6 separate regions of the Homo sapiens genome follow, and all the other regions are linked to region 5. Evidence: promoter capture Hi-C in 16 types of primary human blood cells and fetal thymus (Javierre and others, 2016). All regions are on one chromosome and are shown on one strand. The core of a region is centred on a gene start or on the middle of the fragment in contact, and the rest is flanking DNA. Distances in the headings are between cores, read along the strand shown. Region 1 has its middle 52 kb from the start of LINC01252. Region 2 has its middle 29 kb from the start of PRB2. Region 3 overlaps LOC440084 (a long non-coding RNA gene). Region 4 has its middle 33 kb from the start of PRB4. Region 5 holds the start of TAS2R9 (taste 2 receptor member 9). Region 6 overlaps LOC440084 (a long non-coding RNA gene).

Evidence for each region. The method cuts DNA at HindIII sites, captures the fragments that hold promoters and counts their contacts. A CHiCAGO score of 5 or more calls a contact.
Region 1: a contact is called between a fragment that was not itself captured here and the fragment with the promoter of TAS2R9 in region 5, in 13 of 17 cell types (endothelial precursors, M1 macrophages, M0 macrophages and 10 more). The highest score is 13.6, in endothelial precursors.
Region 2: a contact is called between a fragment that was not itself captured here and the fragment with the promoter of TAS2R9 in region 5, in 5 of 17 cell types (activated CD4 T cells, erythroblasts, M0 macrophages and 2 more). The highest score is 6.5, in activated CD4 T cells.
Region 3: a contact is called between a fragment that was not itself captured here and the fragment with the promoter of TAS2R9 in region 5, in 14 of 17 cell types (M1 macrophages, naive CD8 T cells, total CD8 T cells and 11 more). The highest score is 12.8, in M1 macrophages.
Region 4: a contact is called between a fragment that was not itself captured here and the fragment with the promoter of TAS2R9 in region 5, in 4 of 17 cell types (activated CD4 T cells, total B cells, M0 macrophages and 1 more). The highest score is 6.0, in activated CD4 T cells.
Region 6: a fragment that was not itself captured here is called in contact with the fragment with the promoter of TAS2R9 in region 5 in 14 of 17 cell types (M1 macrophages, non-activated CD4 T cells, total CD4 T cells and 11 more); the score reaches 11.3 in M1 macrophages.

The regions. Positions count from the first base shown.
Region 1 is chr12:11,494,678-11,497,377 of GRCh38, forward strand. No RefSeq gene overlaps it. Among named protein-coding and RNA genes, the nearest start is that of LINC01252, 52 kb to the right of the region's middle. The HindIII fragment of the contact is 956 bases long and covers 905-1,860 here.
Region 2 is chr12:11,422,762-11,425,525 of GRCh38, forward strand. No RefSeq gene overlaps it. Among named protein-coding and RNA genes, the nearest start is that of PRB2, 29 kb to the left of the region's middle. The HindIII fragment of the contact is 1,857 bases long and covers 524-2,380 here.
Region 3 is chr12:11,472,553-11,475,252 of GRCh38, forward strand. All of the region lies in intron 2 of LOC440084 (a long non-coding RNA gene), which reads right to left. Among named protein-coding and RNA genes, the nearest start is that of LINC01252, 74 kb to the right of the region's middle. The HindIII fragment of the contact is 285 bases long and covers 1,231-1,515 here.
Region 4 is chr12:11,341,717-11,344,416 of GRCh38, forward strand. No RefSeq gene overlaps it. Among named protein-coding and RNA genes, the nearest start is that of PRB4, 33 kb to the left of the region's middle. The HindIII fragment of the contact is 220 bases long and covers 1,280-1,499 here.
Region 5 is chr12:10,808,820-10,811,519 of GRCh38, forward strand. TAS2R9 (taste 2 receptor member 9) reads right to left here and starts at 1,349. Exons shown (of 1, transcript NM_023917.2): 1 at 275-1,349. The coding sequence starts at 1,256. The coding sequence ends at 318. The HindIII fragment of the contact is 1,377 bases long and covers 381-1,757 here.
Region 6 is chr12:11,439,422-11,442,121 of GRCh38, forward strand. The region is part of intron 2 of LOC440084 (a long non-coding RNA gene); the gene reads right to left. Among named protein-coding and RNA genes, the nearest start is that of PRB2, 45 kb to the left of the region's middle. The HindIII fragment of the contact is 2,636 bases long and covers 128-2,700 here.

The sequences.
Region 1 (2,700 bases), core at 133-2,632, 690 kb after region 5:
AAATTAAGACCTGTTTGGCCCATAGCTAAGAATTGTCTTTACATTTTTAAGGTTGTTAAAAGAAAAAAAACAAAGATAAATATGTGACATAGACTGTATGTGGTCAGCAAAGTCTAAAATGTCTGCTCCCTGACTCTTTATTTAAAAAGTCTGGGGATCCCTGCTTTCTATGGTTCATTTTGTTTTATTAGATAATGAACACATGCTAATAAAGTTGAATTTAATACTTAAAAACAAGATATCTTCCAAGGAATTTAAAATTGTAAAATTAATACATAGGAAGCATAAGTTTCATGTGTATAGCATATAGAAAAATGCATAATTTTGAAGTTCAGAAAATGAAAAAAATTTGTTCTTAGTCAACAAAAATTCATAAAGAAAAAGAGTTTGTAAAAATGTGAAGGTTCACCTTGGATGAACACGTTGGAAGTAATTCAAGCATTATTGAATTTTTGTATTGAGATGAATGTGTTTTTAATCTTTCAAAATTATATATTATGGATGATAAATTATTTTCTCCTAAACACCAAGTTTTATTGCTTATAGTTTCTCAGTTTCACCTTTACTTTTTTAATGATAACTAGAATATCATTAACACAGAATGTTAATGAGTGAACCATGGCTCAACAGTTTAGTCAATGTGAAGCCAAATTCCAATGCCTCATTTATGATTGCACTTGTATAGAACCCAATAATTTTTTGATGTAAAACTATTGCTTCACCTTATCTACAGACCCCCACCACAGTCCACTTTGTGCCATGTTCTGTAGCTTGTACCTAGAATTAAGGTTTGGATATTTTTGCTGCTGGCTGCCTTTGGTAATTAATTTTATTTCGTCTAGTTTTCTTAAGAGGCAAGGTTACAGGAATTGCCATGTAAATGAATATGCAAGTTAGTAACTTAAGCTTATAGCCAATGCACTATATTTTTAATAGGATAGTAGCTGGATTGATCTGTTTTGCATACAGGTGGTTTTATACAAAGCATATTAGGCATGGGGGAAGGAGCAAAAAAGGAGGGAGAAAGACAGAGACTCTGTCCTGTCCCCTCCATCCAATGAACCAAACTTTAAACACTTAGTTTACGGCAGACTTCCTTTATGATGCATTTTCTTATCCCTCCCTTATCTGTTTTTGAGTTTAGTGTTAACTGTTTTTTTTTAATACCCCACCATATGTTGTTCAAATGTCTATCTATACAACTGTCACACTTCAGGACAGTTGGTCCACATTTCTACTCCTGCCTGCTAGACTGAAGACTCCTTAGGGAAAAGACTGCACCTCCTCTATCTTTCTAGTCCCCTTACCTAATACAGTGCCTACCACGAAGCAGGTAGGTTTGTAAGATGAAGGAATCCATGGATAGTTTGTAATTCTTGGGAGATGACAATGCCTAGTGGGAGTGGCCAGAAGGATTCTTTAAGGATGAAAAAGAATGAAGAGTAATAAGGGGAGGCTGAATGTTGGATGTTCTGGGAGTCACTCCTTCTCCTCTGTGGTTTCTGACCATTGAGAGATCAAATGGGGATGACAGCAGAGATGGCTAAGTTGTCCCCACTATCTATTCTCTCCTTCTTCCAAGGTGATGGAGTCCTCAAATTTTGCCTAAATACATGACTACCCACAAATGAGACTTCAATTCCCAGCATCTCTTGCAGGTGGGTGTGGTCATGTGACTGACATCTGGCCAATGGGATGTAGGCATGTGCTCAATGGCAGTTTCTAGGCCATTGCTTCCTTTTCTCTCCTCATCCTCCAACCTCGATTAAAAGGTCAAGGGCTACATCCAAGGAATGGTGGGGCAGAAAGGAGGAAGGAGCCTGGTATCCCAAGGACTTCATAGGGCAGAGCTGATACACAAGCTTCATAATACAAAATCTGGACTATTGCCTGAGAAAGAAATTAATATTTTTTCATCCTTTCTCTCTTTTCTTTTTCTTTCTTTCTTTCTTTTCCTTCTTTCTTTCCCTCTCTCTTTCTTTCTTTCCCTCTCTCTTTCTTTCTTTTCTTCTTTGTCTTCTTTTCCTTTCTTTTCTTTCTTTCTACCAGCTTTTCCTAGCTTTTTATTGTGGTAAAATAGACCTAACCTAAAATTTACCATCAAAACCATTTTTAAGCATACAGCTCAGTGGCATTCGCACATTTACACTGCTGTGCAGCCGTCACCACCAGCCATTTCCAGGACTTTGCCATCATCCCAACCTGAAACTCTACCCATGAAACACAAGCTGCCCAACTCCCACCTTGTTTCCCCATCCCTGGCGGCCACTGCTTCTGCTGCTATGAACTGGACTGTTCTAGGCACCTCACATAAGTGGACTCACACAATATCTGTCCTTTCATGTCTAGCTTCTCTATTTAATTTTTTTTAATAAAACCTTTTAAGAGACAGGGGTCTCATTATTTTGCCCAGGCTGGTCATGAACTCCTGGCCTCTGGTGATCCTCCCACGTCATCATGACTGACTTCTCTATTTAATTTTTTTTTCTTTTTTTTTTTAAGATGGAGCGTTGCTCTGTCACCCAGGCTGGAGTGCAGTGGTGCAATCTCGGCTCTCTGCAACCTCCACCTCCCAGCTTTCAAGCAATTCTGCCTCAGCCTCCCGAGTAGCTGGGAATACATGTGCATGCTACCACGCCCAGCTAATTTTTTGTATTTTTAGTAGAGACAGGGTTTCACCATATTAGCCAGGATGGTCTT
Region 2 (2,764 bases), core at 202-2,701, 610 kb after region 5:
TCAAACCTACATATTCTCTGGCTTCTCTCATGATGGTAAGTGAAGTTCCTTGGCCCTATCTTTTACCTTCATGCTAGATTCCATACCGTATTACCTAATCAAGGATTTTGCTTCCGTAATTATGTTCCATTTCTCCCTGCATCTTCAATTTGTTCTTCTTTATGACAAATGTGCTGTAATATCTCCCATTTTTACAAAGCTCTCTCTACATATTTAATGCCTCTCCATTTACCACACAATTTGTCTGACATCTTTATTGCAAAAATCTTTGAAAAGAATGTTATAGTTATTGTTCGCCATGTTCTCACCTCCCATTTTCTCTTCCACACACTCTATAGGGGCTTTTGTACTCACCACTTCCATCATTTTCATAATAATGAAATCCAAATCTGTTTCTAAAGCCAAGGTTCTGCATAATTGGTCCCCTGCCTATCTCCTATCTTTGAACTTATTGACTTCTCTATAACTAATTTACTTCACTAATTTAGCCACACTGGCCTCTTAACACTATGCCAATATACCAAGCTTGCTTATATCTTTATCAAGCATGTTTTGTCCCTTTATTCAAATCTGTTCAAATGTCACCATTTTGAAGCCTTCTTTGAATACACAAAAATCCTCAATCCCCTTAACTTGCTTATTTTTGTATCAAAATTGTTGTCATTAGGAGACAGCTGATACCCAAGATTCCTTCCTCCTGATATTCACATGCTTGTGTGGTTCCCACCTTAATATATCAGGATTGGTCTGTGTGACCCATAGAATATGAGGAAAGTGTTAGTATATATTAATACCCCTGAGATCATGTTATAAAAGAAACTGTGGCTTCATTTTTTTTTTTTTTTTGGCAACTTCACTCTGTCTGTCTCTTTGTCTCACTGTCTTGATCTCTCTCTTTCTCTCTTTCCCTTTCTCACATCTTTTACTTTGGGAAAGACCAGCAGCCATGTCCAATAGCTTTATGGAGAGGCCATCCTTTCCAAGTGAATCTCTAGGCGTCTCCTTCATTTGACTTCACAGTGAAGCAAGCACCTAGAGGGGATGAGAAGGAAAAGTTTCCCACCCTCAATCTCTCAGTCCCCACTTGATCTCTATAACAATTTCACTCTGCCCAAATTGTGTCTAATGTGGACACAGTGGGGTGAATGATAGGGATGCATTGGCTTCCTTCTAGTAGGCCCTGCTAGGAAGTGAGGTGTCAGTTTCAAGTACTGATGACTTTTTGGTTGTGATTTCATTTTTAGAATGAGGAAATATTATTTGCCTTTTGTTCACCAATATCATCACTACCCTGTACCTATTAATTACGCTTATATTTCCTTCCTTACAAAACCTTTTGTTTTTCCTGGAGTTAATAATTACCTCCTTTTTCTCACTTATTTGGTTTTCTTTAAACATCTAAGTCTTCCTGACACTTCCAACGGACTTGTAAAATCCCTCTTCATACAATTTTCCTCACTGACACTTCTCAGATAATTTGCCTTTGTCCTGGAAATTTTATTTTCTTCTCTCAAATAGGGTGATGCATATCCTGAGTTAATGCCTCCCTCTTTCTCAGCCTTCTTCTTTGGTGAAACCCATTCTTCCATAGCTTGTTGCAAATGAGCCACATGAGAGGGGAAACATTTCAAGATCATTCATGTCTAAGAATGTGCTTAGTCTGGCCTCACACTTGACTGATAATCTGGCCAAATATAGGACACTAGGTTGAAAATGACTTTTGCTCAGAATCTTTCTGACACCATCTTCTAACTTTTACCCTTCCATTTTCACTCTAATTCTCAATCCTTAGTGTAAAACTGTTTTTTTCCTCCACTGGAATCTTGAGGATCATCCTTTTATCCCTAAAATTTAATTAGATTTAAGTTGATATGGATCTCTTTCCATTTATTGTGCTGGGCACTCAGTATTCTATTCCGGGTGTTGCAGGGGCTGTGCTGGGCCCTACATTTTAGATTGGTCTCCACACACCCCAAAACCAAACGCATGGTTTAATTCCTTTCACTCTCCTTGGAAAATATTTTAAAAGTCCAGCAAATAAATAAAAAACAGGAATTGTGGGAGAGGGGCACAGGCAGAACTGTGGTCCTCAAGTCCTGAGGATGCAGAATTGAGAAGGTACAATGAGAATAAATTCACAGCTTCTGCTCTGGGACACCAGAGAAAAAAATGAATGCTTTTGCTTAATGTTTTTCAGCTTAAAAAGACCAAAGAGCACATCTGGGCAGACAGGTTCACCCACTCTCCCTCCATAAATGCACTCTCTACTACTCCTGTGGTCAGTAATATCATTTGGGGAGCTGCTTAGAACCTCCTGGGAAACCCAAATCAGAAGTGAGGCAGGGCAGAGAGCATCGCTTGCCTAGCAGGCTCCCACAAAAGCTTGGCCAGGTCAATGCTTGGCCCCCACCCAGCTTCCACCCTGCTGCTCCAGCAGACAGCCCTACCCCTCTCCATCCTCCCACCTCCCAGCTTGCAGTCAGGGTTAATGCAGGGAAACACATGTTCCTTTAGCCTCCTGGCTAGTTGAGAAAGGCAGTTTCCAAGAGACAGACTGCAGGACTTATGTGGAACCTGACATGAATCTAGGGTCTAGACACTTTATAACTTATAGAGTAGGGGCTATAAAGTAGGTGGGGCTCCATTTGTATTCCTGCACTGGGCACTGCAAATGGTTAAGTGTGGGCCTGCGGATCAACATTGGGCCCTTTCAATATGGAGAATACACCTTAAGTTCTGGGAAATCTAGTGTTTCATTGACTAT
Region 3 (2,700 bases), core at 123-2,622, 660 kb after region 5:
AGTAAAATCTCATTGTAGTTTTGACATGCATTTATCTTATGATTAGTAATATTAAGCACCTTTCCATATGCTGGTTGACCATTTGTATATCTTCTTTGGAGAATTCTCTATTCAAGTTATTTGCCCACTTTTGAATCAGGTCATTTTGTTGTTGAGTTGTAGAAGTTCCATAAATACATTTTTAATTATAATTTTTGTATATGTGTATATATACATGTTAAATACATATTTATATATATTTAAAATGCATTATCAAATATGTCATTTTCAAATATTTTCTCCCATCCATAGATTGCCTTTTCATTCTGTTAATTATGTTAACAAGCAGAAGTTAACCTTAAACTTTCCTGTCATACTATTTGCCTACTTTTGCTTTTGTTGCCTGTGCTTTTGGAGTCATATCCAGTAAATCATTACCAAATCCATTGTCATAAACATTTTTTCCTCTCCTTTTTTCTAGGAGTGTAATAGCTTTAGGTCTTGTGTTTAGATATTTAATCCATTTTGTTGGTTTTTGTATATGGTGTAAGGTAAGTGTCTAACTTCATAATTTTGCATTTGAGTATCCACTTTTCCCAACACCATTTGTTGAAGGAATTGTCCTTTCCTCCATTGGTATAATTTGGACATTTGTCCTCTCCAGATCTCATGTTGAAATTTGATCCCCATTGTTGGAAGTGTTTGGTCATGTAGGTGGATCTCTCATGAATGGCTTGGCGTAGTTGATACGGTTTGACTGTGTCCCCACCCAAATCTCATCTTGAATTGTAGCTCCTATAATTCCCACATGTTGTGGGAGGGGCCCGGTAGGAGATAACTGAACCATGTGGGCGGGTCTTTCCCATGCTATTCTCATCATGGTGAATAAGTCTCACGAAATCTGATCGTTTTATAAAGGAGAATTTCCCTGCACAGGTTCTCTTCTCTTGTCTGCAGCCATGTGAGATGTGCCTTTCACCTTCCACCATGATTGTGAGCCCTCCCAAGCCACGTGGAACTGTGTGTCCATTAAACCTCTTTATTTTGTAAATTGCCCAGTCATGGATATGTCTTTATCAGCAGCATGAGAACAGACTAATACAGTAGTCTCCAGGGTAATGAGTGAGTTCTCTATTTGTTTTCACAAGATCTGATTTTTAAAATGAGCCTGGCATCTCCCTCCTTTCTCTTGCTTGCTCTCTGTCTTGCCATATGATGCCTGCAGCCCTTTTACCTTCTGCCATGATTGTAAGCTTCCTGAGGCCCTTACAAGAAGTAGAAAGTAGATGCTGGTGCCATGCCTCTGGTACAGGCTGTCGAATTGTGAGCCAAATTAACCTTTTTCTTTTAAAAATCACCCAGCCTCACATATTTATTTATAGCAGTGCAAAATGAACTACAACAGAAAATTGGTACCAAGAAATGGGGTGTTACTATAAAGAAACTTGAAAATGTGGAAGCAGTTTTGAAAACAGGGTAATGGGCAGAAGTTGGAAGAGTTTGGAGGACTCTGAAGAAGACAGGAAGAAGAGAGAAAGCTTGGAACTTCTCAGAGACTGGTTAAATGGTTGTGATCAAAATGCTGATAGAACTAGGGACAATGAAGGCTATATTGATGAAGTCTCAGATGAAAATGAGAAACTTATAGGGAACTAAAGTAAATGTCACCCTTGTTATGCCCTAGCAAAGAAATTGGCTGCACTGTGTCCATGTCCTAGGACTTTGCGGTAGGCTGAATTTTAGATTGATGACTTAGGGTATCTGGCAGAAGAAATTTCTAAGCAGCAAAACATTCGAGAAGAGTCATGTCTGCTTCTAACAACCTAGGGTCGGTTTTGGGAGCAAAAAAATTACCTAAAGTTGGAACTGATAATGAATAGGAAATCAGAACATAAAAATTTGGCAAATTCACAGCCCACTGTGTGGTAGACAAGGTGTGGCAGAGGTGTGGTAGAGAAGGAAAGACCATTTTCAAAGAGAGGAATCCAAGGAGGCTTGGAGTCACCACTTGCTAGAGAGATTGGCAATAATAAAAGGGAGCCAGATGCTGATGGTCAAGACAATGAGAAAAAGACCCTGACATTTCAGAAATCTTCAAGGCCACCCCTCCATCACAGGCCCAATGTCCTAAGACAGAATGGCTTCAGGGGAACTGCCTAGGGTGCCACTGCCCTGTTGGATGCTGCTTTCCTGCTGCTCTGCCTCCATCCCCAGCTCAAAGAGTCCCAGGGACTGCTTGGGCTGCTGCTCCAGAGGGCACAAGCCATAAGCCTTGGCAGCTTCAACATGGTGGTAAGTCTGCAGGCACACAGAGGCAAAAGCCATGGAGGCTTGGCAGCTTCCACCTAGATTTCAAAGGATGTATTGGAAAGCCTGAGTGCCCAGGCAGAAGCCTATCTGCAAAAAGCCTTTATTAGGGAAGTGCCTAGGGGGAAATGTGGGGTTGGAGCCCCAGCAAAGCATCCTTACTGGGGCACTGATTGGTGGAGCCCTGGGAGCAGGGCCACTGCCATTCATATCCCAGAATGGTAGCACCACCAACAGCATGCACCTTCAGTCTAGAAAAACCATGGGCACCACATCCCAACCCCTGGGAGCAGCCACAGGGGCTATGCTCAACAAAGCCATGGGGACAGTGATGCCCAAGGCCTTGGGAGCCCACCCCTTCTACCATTGTGCCCAGGATGTGAGACATGGAGTCAAGTGAGAGCATTCTGTACC
Region 4 (2,700 bases), core at 140-2,639, 530 kb after region 5:
GTCTCTCCTGAAAAAATACCACACATTGTGTAATTTAACAACAGAAATTGATTTTCTCACAGTTCTGGGGACTCACAGCCCATGATCAAGGTGTTAACAGGTTCAGTTCTTCTAAGATGTCTCTTCTTCCCTTTGACTTGGCTATTTTTTTGTTTTGTCTTCACACATGGGTTTCTCTGTACACATGCACCCCTGGTGTCCCTCCATGTGACCAAAAGTTCCTTTCTTATAACAACAGGAGTCTGATTAGATTGGGACCATCTTAATAGCCTAATTTTCATTTAGGTACCTCTATAAAAAGAAATTCTTTCCAAACACAATCATATTCTGAGGTACAGGGATAGGATTTCAACATACAAATTTGGGTAAAAACAATGCAGCCCATGATACCTCCTAATCTTTACTAAAACAATAACATTTTTTACAGAGTTCTCAAGAACATAGGAGTCACTTTTTACTTTTCACTCCACACCAAGCACTGCATATAAGCAAATACAGTGGGCTCCACTATAAAACACATCCCAAGATGACCCTTTCCATAATCTCTAATATAAGGCTCTAGTGGGGGCATGACCCTCTCTCCTGGAGGACTAGAACAGCCCCTAGCTGCCCTTGTAACCTTCCTGCTCCCACCACATTCCATATCACTTCTCCTCACAATAGCCAGTGTGATCTTTTAATAATAAATATTAAATATTACCTTCTTCCTTCATATCCTCTAAGTTTTCCTGATTTTCCTTTTAGTAAGATCTTGTAAAGTTCACACCTAAGTTTCTTCGTACTCACGTGTCATTCTCAAAGACTGGGAAGCTCTATGCATGGAACTGAAAGAAGAATTTTCTTCAACTTTACAATGCGCTGGTTTGTCTAGAACAACTAAAGAGTGGTTTGCCCAGAAGTTGAACATGGACAGAGTTGTGCTGATAGTGAGTGAATTGCATTTAGTCCCTGTGGTCTGAGGGGAGTTCCTCTGTGTGCCCATTTAATCAACTAAGCATTATGATGATACAGTTAACAATTCAACACAATTGTCTCTGAGAAGTGTACTTTGCTTAGGTTTTTCTAAAAATTCTGGCTACCCTATTATGATAGTGGTTCTCATATGCTGACTTACAGTAGAGTCTTCATAAACATAACTTTCACAATTATATTAGCACATTCATATTCTACAAGCCTATTGTAACATGATAGACTATAATAGGAAATATTTACCAAGCATTGACTATGTGCCATATAATCTTCAGAACCATCTTTTCAGGTAGTAATAATTTTTATTACAAGCTTCATTTTATAGATGAGATGATGGAAGCACATGCCAAGATAGTTATAAAGTTAGTAAGTGGTGTAGATGGCGGTAGTCTCCAGAGCCTCAGTTCTTGCCTCCTTTGCTCCACTGCTCTTTGCATTTATGAACATATTTGTTTATTTTCAAGAAAGTGAGAAGAAATTAGATCCAGACAAGAAACTCAGGTACTGGTTTTAGGACCTGCTTGAAGTAAAGCTTTTCTTAAGACATGACCAGGTGAAGTGAAAAAAAAAAACAAACAAAACTATTTTCTTAAAGTTGTTTCTAAATCATAAGCACATTACACAGGCTTCTACATTCCCCTTTTCTTCATCTTTGTGTATTTAGTCATGCACATGATTAATTTCTTCTTCTTCTTTTTTTTTTTTTTTTTTCTGAAGTCTCCCTCTGTCACCCAGGCTGCAGTGCAGTGGCACAGTCTCTGTTCACTGCAACTTCTGCCACCTGGTTTCAAGCGATTCTCTTGCCTCAGCCTCCTAAGTAGCTTGGATTACAGGCACCTGTCACTAGGCCTGGCTCATTTTTTTAGTTTTAGCAGAGACAGGTTTCACCATCTTGGCCTAGCTGATCTTGAACTCCTGACCTCGTGATACACCCGCCTTAGCCTCCCAAAGTGCTGGGATTACAGGCATGAGCCACCACCCCCAGCCACTTTCTTCTTTTTTATAAATGAAAAAATCACTGGCAATCAGGATCATGAAGTGCTTTTTATGCATGCTTACACACACTTTTCTCAGGAGACATTGGCTAAACTGTGGATACCATTTAAAGTGACCAACATTTTTATTCATATCTCACAAGAAATCCAAACAAAAAGAATTCCTCACCCTGTATATGCCAGGAAAAAAACAAAAAATCAATGTACCGAGTCACCTGGAAAAATCAAATTTATGTGTAGCAAATTTTATTGTATTAGAAAGCCTTTCTGTAATGCATTGGGACTGTAAAATGTTCATGGAAAAAGTATGTTATATTTAAAAAAGAATAGATTCCAATTTTTGCACCAAAATAAACTCATATTGACATGCTCTAACATGTCTGAACAGGAGCTACTTGAGTCATCAAGAAAAATAAGAGCAAGTTCAAAAGTTCCCCTATGAGAGCATCATGAATTCTTCTAAAATTAAAAAGAGTATAAACGTGAACTTCATGGTGAAGCTTGGGTACAAGAAGGTGAAATCAATGATGCTTTCTGAAACACTGGTAGGGATAATGGCCCTAAAAATTGGCAGTTCACAAGTAGGTAACTCATTTCAAGAAGGGATAAGACAAGGTTGAACCTAAAGCCCATAGACACAGAGGATTCATATCAAATTGCATGGATAAAATTGGTACAAGATGAATTTTTGTACCAATAATTCTCGGTACAAACAAGAGCCAACACTACAAAATTC
Region 5 (2,700 bases), core at 99-2,598:
CTTTGCCAGTATTTGTCAGAAAAGAAGTAGAACCTCTTTGTATTTAGTCAATGACATAAAATGATGAAATGTTAGTGTGGGATTTAGATGCATTTTTTTTTTCTGCAACGACAAAGAATATACGGTGCAATGATAACATTAGATTATCCATTAAACAAGACAAAAGTGTGAAGGAACACAAAACAAATCTTCAGAATCATGACAGATATTAATGACTTCCAATAGCATATAAGAGAAAATGAATGCAAACAAGAGAAGGGAGAATGCCTTTTGTTGATTTCTTTCATCCTTGTAGTCAGGATACTCTTTAGGGGTCTCTATGGAACAAAAGGCTTTCTTCTTCTAAGGAAACACTTCACAAATCTTAACATCTTCAGAAAAGCTTCCCTCAACTTGCTATTTCCCATAATTAGAATGAATGAATGGCTTGATGGGAAAATGACAGTTACTATGTCACCAATCATCAACACTAATTTTCCCTGAGGAATCAGAGCGCTAGAGGTCATAACAAGAAAGACTGGGTAGTACACGATGAGGAGGAGCAGAAAGATGATCACTGCCTTTATGGCCCTCATGTGGGCCTCTGTACTGGGGTCTCTGAACCCTGTAGCATGCAGTCGAATCTGCTTGGTGTGTCTAACTAGGGAGAAAAGTAACAAGAAAAATGAGATCAGGCAAAGGATAAAGGGAACCATCACCCCCAGGTTCAGGGTTAACTGTTTGAAAGTACCTGGAATTTTACTCACTTTGAATTTCCAAGTAATGTTTTCTTCATGACTGACTTTGAAAAGGTGATACCACATATCATCATTCTTTGGAACACTAATAATTAAAGAGATAAGAAAGGACCCCAGAAGAATCGCAAGCATGACCTTGTTGATCTTTAGCTTCAGCCAGAAGAAAAATGGGTGCGATATATTGGCTATCTTGAGTAAATAGAAGATACTGAGGCAAGAAGTAAACCAGAGACTTGAATTATTGGCAAATGTCCAGACAACATTCACAATGCTTACTAGCACGCTATTGCCATATGTACCTGGAAAGAGCAGCATAAAGAAGCCATCTAATGATATTACACACAGCAGACAGATTCTGGAGATGGCCAAGCTGATCAGGATGATGTCAATCAAGGAAATATCTCTTCTTTTGAGCCAGTCAATGCAGTTAACTAGTACAATGAATCCATTTCCCCAAATCCCTATGGTCAATTCACCAGCAATTAAAATAATATATATTGCCTCTATTGCACTTGGCATGCCAGCAAAGACTTGTGATTTTTGAATATCACTGATGATGAATTGACTTTCAGCTGACCAGTGAAGAACAATGTATCTGTCTGCCTCTTAGACCATGATATAGTTGTCTTTATCTCTCCTTTTTGTTAGCTGTGATGCAGATGAAGAAGATAGCCAGTCCTGCTCTGGGCTAGAGCTGCCTAAAGACTTCAATGATTGGGGCCAGTAATTTCCTTTGGTGCAGTGATGACTGAAAGCCTCTAGGATGCAAATGGGAATGGATCTGATTTCTTAAATTTGCACACTCTTTCTTATTTTAAGCTCTGTATATTTTGGATTTATCAATCTGAGCTGTTGACCAGGAACTTCAAGAAGGTATCAATTACTTGGAAAATATGGCTAGAATTTAATTTGCTGGATGACTATCCATCCTTGTTAGTATATTGACATAGTTATTGCTATTACAGATTCTAGGTTTACTGTGTTAGCTTGTGTGGCCAGTTTGCTTGCTTGGTTGACTAAAGCTTTAAACAAATTATTATTAACATTAAATGAGGCTTAAATGGCATAACTGGTGGAATGTAGAGGAAAGAATCTAAAGGTGTAGGAAGATAGGAGTATTAAGGTGAATTTATCATATGCGAACTTCACCTTCTCCCCATTATATGACTTAAGAGGGCCAAAAGGACACTCCATTCACTAGGGCATTGAGAAATACATTAATTAGGTAATTCCCAATATCCTCAAAAAGCTCTGCAGTGTTTGTCTTCTCAACTGAAGATACAATGAGGGAAATAAACATGACATTGTAGTGTTGTCAGCAAATGAGACACGGAAAATTCTGGTTTAGATGTTAGGGTTTCTTAGAGTGTTCTTGCTTTGTACCTGAATGTAGCTTCCATACATAGAAAAAATAGTCAAAATACTGGTCACTTATCTTTAGAATGGAAACAGATCAGCCTGAACAGTGAGGAGGACAAAGAGCAAGAAAGTGATATTTTTGGAACTAAAAAGCGTGATAGATATACAAGACTCTTCAGTCTGAACTGAGTGATAAGAATACATGCTCTGAATTTTCTTAGCTCTATTTTTTGGCAGCAGGTGTATTATAAATATTAGTATGCTAATTATACACACATTGGAAACACACTGTTTCATTGGGACATATTGAAACATGTCATTGGGCATAGTAGAACATATTTGAAATAATAGAAAAAGGCACACAGCAATACACAGTTCCCAGAAATATTATTTTGAAACTAATATTAAATTTTAAGGCAATATTAAATATTGCTTATCAAACAAACACAACAATACAAAGTATTTAATGAGATAATGTGTCATATGTTCAGGGTTTTAGACAAAATAAAGAGATAAAAATTAATCTTGCAGATTTTTATGAGAAAGTAAATAGCTATTGTTATTCTATTCAGTGAAATTTGGGGTTTCTTTCATGCTTCTCTGT
Region 6 (2,700 bases), core at 196-2,695, 630 kb after region 5:
TAAATTTGGTTGCCTTATTTCTACAAAGTCTATTATAGAGCCCTGGTGCCAAATAAATGATTATTCATCTGTACTGAATTCTAGGTGAGAAGACACTGTCAAATGCAACCTTTCAGCAGTGGCTAAAAGCTTGGGTTCTAGACTCAGATTGTCTGGCCATGAACCCAGGTCCTTGGGAGACCTTGAACTTGCCCAAATCACTCTGTCCAGTTTTCCTGATTTGCAAAACGCAGGTGATGATACTAATCCCTTCATAGGGTCATTGTGAGAATTAAATGAACTGATCCATGTAAATTGGTAAATGACATATAATAAATGATCAATGATTGGCACCTTCATTATTATAACTTGAGATGGACCTTAAAGAATAAAGTAAAACTATCCGAGTAATTACCCTCATTAAAGAAAAGTATGTGACTGGAGACTACAATGAGAGGGTGACAAAAAGAGGGCAGTGGAAGAGGAGGTTGTGGCCGTCTGAAATGACACTGGGGAGCATACCAAGGAGATCTTCAAAAGCTGAAGAGTTGAGTCATTATTCTGCTGGCAAAACAGAGTCATTGAGAATGTGAAGTCAATGGTTGGCATGGTAAAAGCCATGCTTTAGGAAGACTAGCCAAACCTGCACAAACAGAGAGCAGGTCAGTAATGGCACTGCACAGGCAAGAGCCACCATGGGTTCAGCAGCATGGTAGCCCTAGGCCTGAAAAGTATACAGATATTAAAGACATTATGAAGGTGAAATTAAAGGGACTTGGTGACTGATTAGATGTGGGGCAAAGTGCCCTCACCATGACATATGCTCAAAAAAGTTGGCTTTCTAGGATTTTAGCTCTTTTAGGAAATGAATTCTCAGAGTTTAAACCACTATCCTAAAAATAAAAAGAAAAGAGGAAGGAGGGGAGGACAAAAAGAATTATAACTCTTCAGATTTGGCCGAAAGCCTTGCCTGGTAGTCAATGAACAAGGAAGAAAACACACTGTGGTACACCATGAAGAGATTTCAGTGGATTTAATTGAAGTTTTAGGACCAATGTGTTCTCTTGGACTTAGCACACATCCTCATGGGCAATTCTGAGACTGATTCCCGTCTTTGTCTCTTAGATATTTTAAGCTCTAGGTTAGACTCTTTTAAACCATGGTGGAGGGACAGCAGGGGGAGCAGGATTTTGATCAGCTGATAGATAAGAAATGCAAAAATTATAACAATGAGATATCACCTCACACCTATTGGGATGGCCACTATCAAAACAACAGAAAATAACAAGTGTTAGCAAGGATGTGGAGAAATTAGAGTCCCTGTACACAGCTTTGGGAATGTAAACTGGAGCAGCCTTTATGGAAAACAATATAGAGGTTTCTTGAAAAATTAAACATAGAGTTACCAAATAATCCATCAATCCCTCTTCTGGACAAATATTCAAAATCAGGATTGTTTTTTTGAAACAGGGTCTCACTCTGTCATCCAGGCTGGAGTGCAGTGGTGCGATCTAGGCTCACTGCAGCCTCTGCCTCCCTGGTTCAAGCGATTCTCACACCTCAGCCTCCTGAGTAGTTGGGATTACAAGTGTTTGCCGCAATGCCTGGCTAGTTTTTGTATTTTTAGTTGAGGTGGGGTTTCACTATGTTGGCCAGGCTGCTCTCAAACTCCTGGTCTCAAGTGATCCACCTGCCTTGGACTCCCAAAGTGCTGGGATTACAGGTATGAGCCACTGCACCAAGAAGAAATCAGGATGTTGAAAAGATCCTTACATATCTTTGTTTATTGCAGCATTATTCACAATAGCCAAGAGGTAGAGCAACTCGGATGTTCATCTATGGATGAATGAAGTTAAAAATGTGGTACACACATATGACGGAATATTATTCAGCCTTTAAAAAGGAATGAATCCTTTCCTATGCTATGAACAAGGTCATACAGATGAACAAACATGGTTACATGGATAAACTTTGAGAACATTATGCTAGATGGAAGAAGCCAGTCACAAAAAGACCAAGACTGCATGAGTCCACTTATGTGAGGTATCTAAAGTAGTCAAACTCACAAAAATGGAAAGTAGAAAGGTGGGTGTCAAGGGCTGGGGGAAGGAGACATTATTGTTCAATGGGTGTAGACTTTTAGTTTTGCAAGATGAAAAATTTCTAGAGATCTCTATTTGTTGCACAACAATGTGAATATACTTAACACAACTGAACTATACACTTAAAAGAAGTTAAGTGGTAAATTTAAGGGTATGGATTTTTTACTACAATAAAAACATTTTTAGCAGTTATAACAAGTAATAATGACTAAATGGCAATTACTATGTCCCAGGCACTATTGTAAATATTTTACAAATTCTGAGTACTTTACAAATATGTACTCATTTTAACCCTCACAATAATCCTAAACAGCATATAAAGTATTATAACAGCATCAATTTACTAATGAAGAAACTGAGGCGCAAGGAAATTAGGTCACTTGCCCAGTTACAGAGCAAGTAAGAGGTAGAGGCAGGAATAAATACAGGCAGCATGGCTTGGAGTAGAGCCCCATTTTTTTTCTCTATTCAGGCTTATCTCTACCCATCTTCTGGTGTTAAGAATAATGACTCTGCTAGTTTGGAATTAATCCCTTTCTTATGTCTCTGCCTCAAATATACTAAAAGTTTTAAGGGCAGGGGCCAAAGCCATACAACTTCATGACATTATGTTATCCAA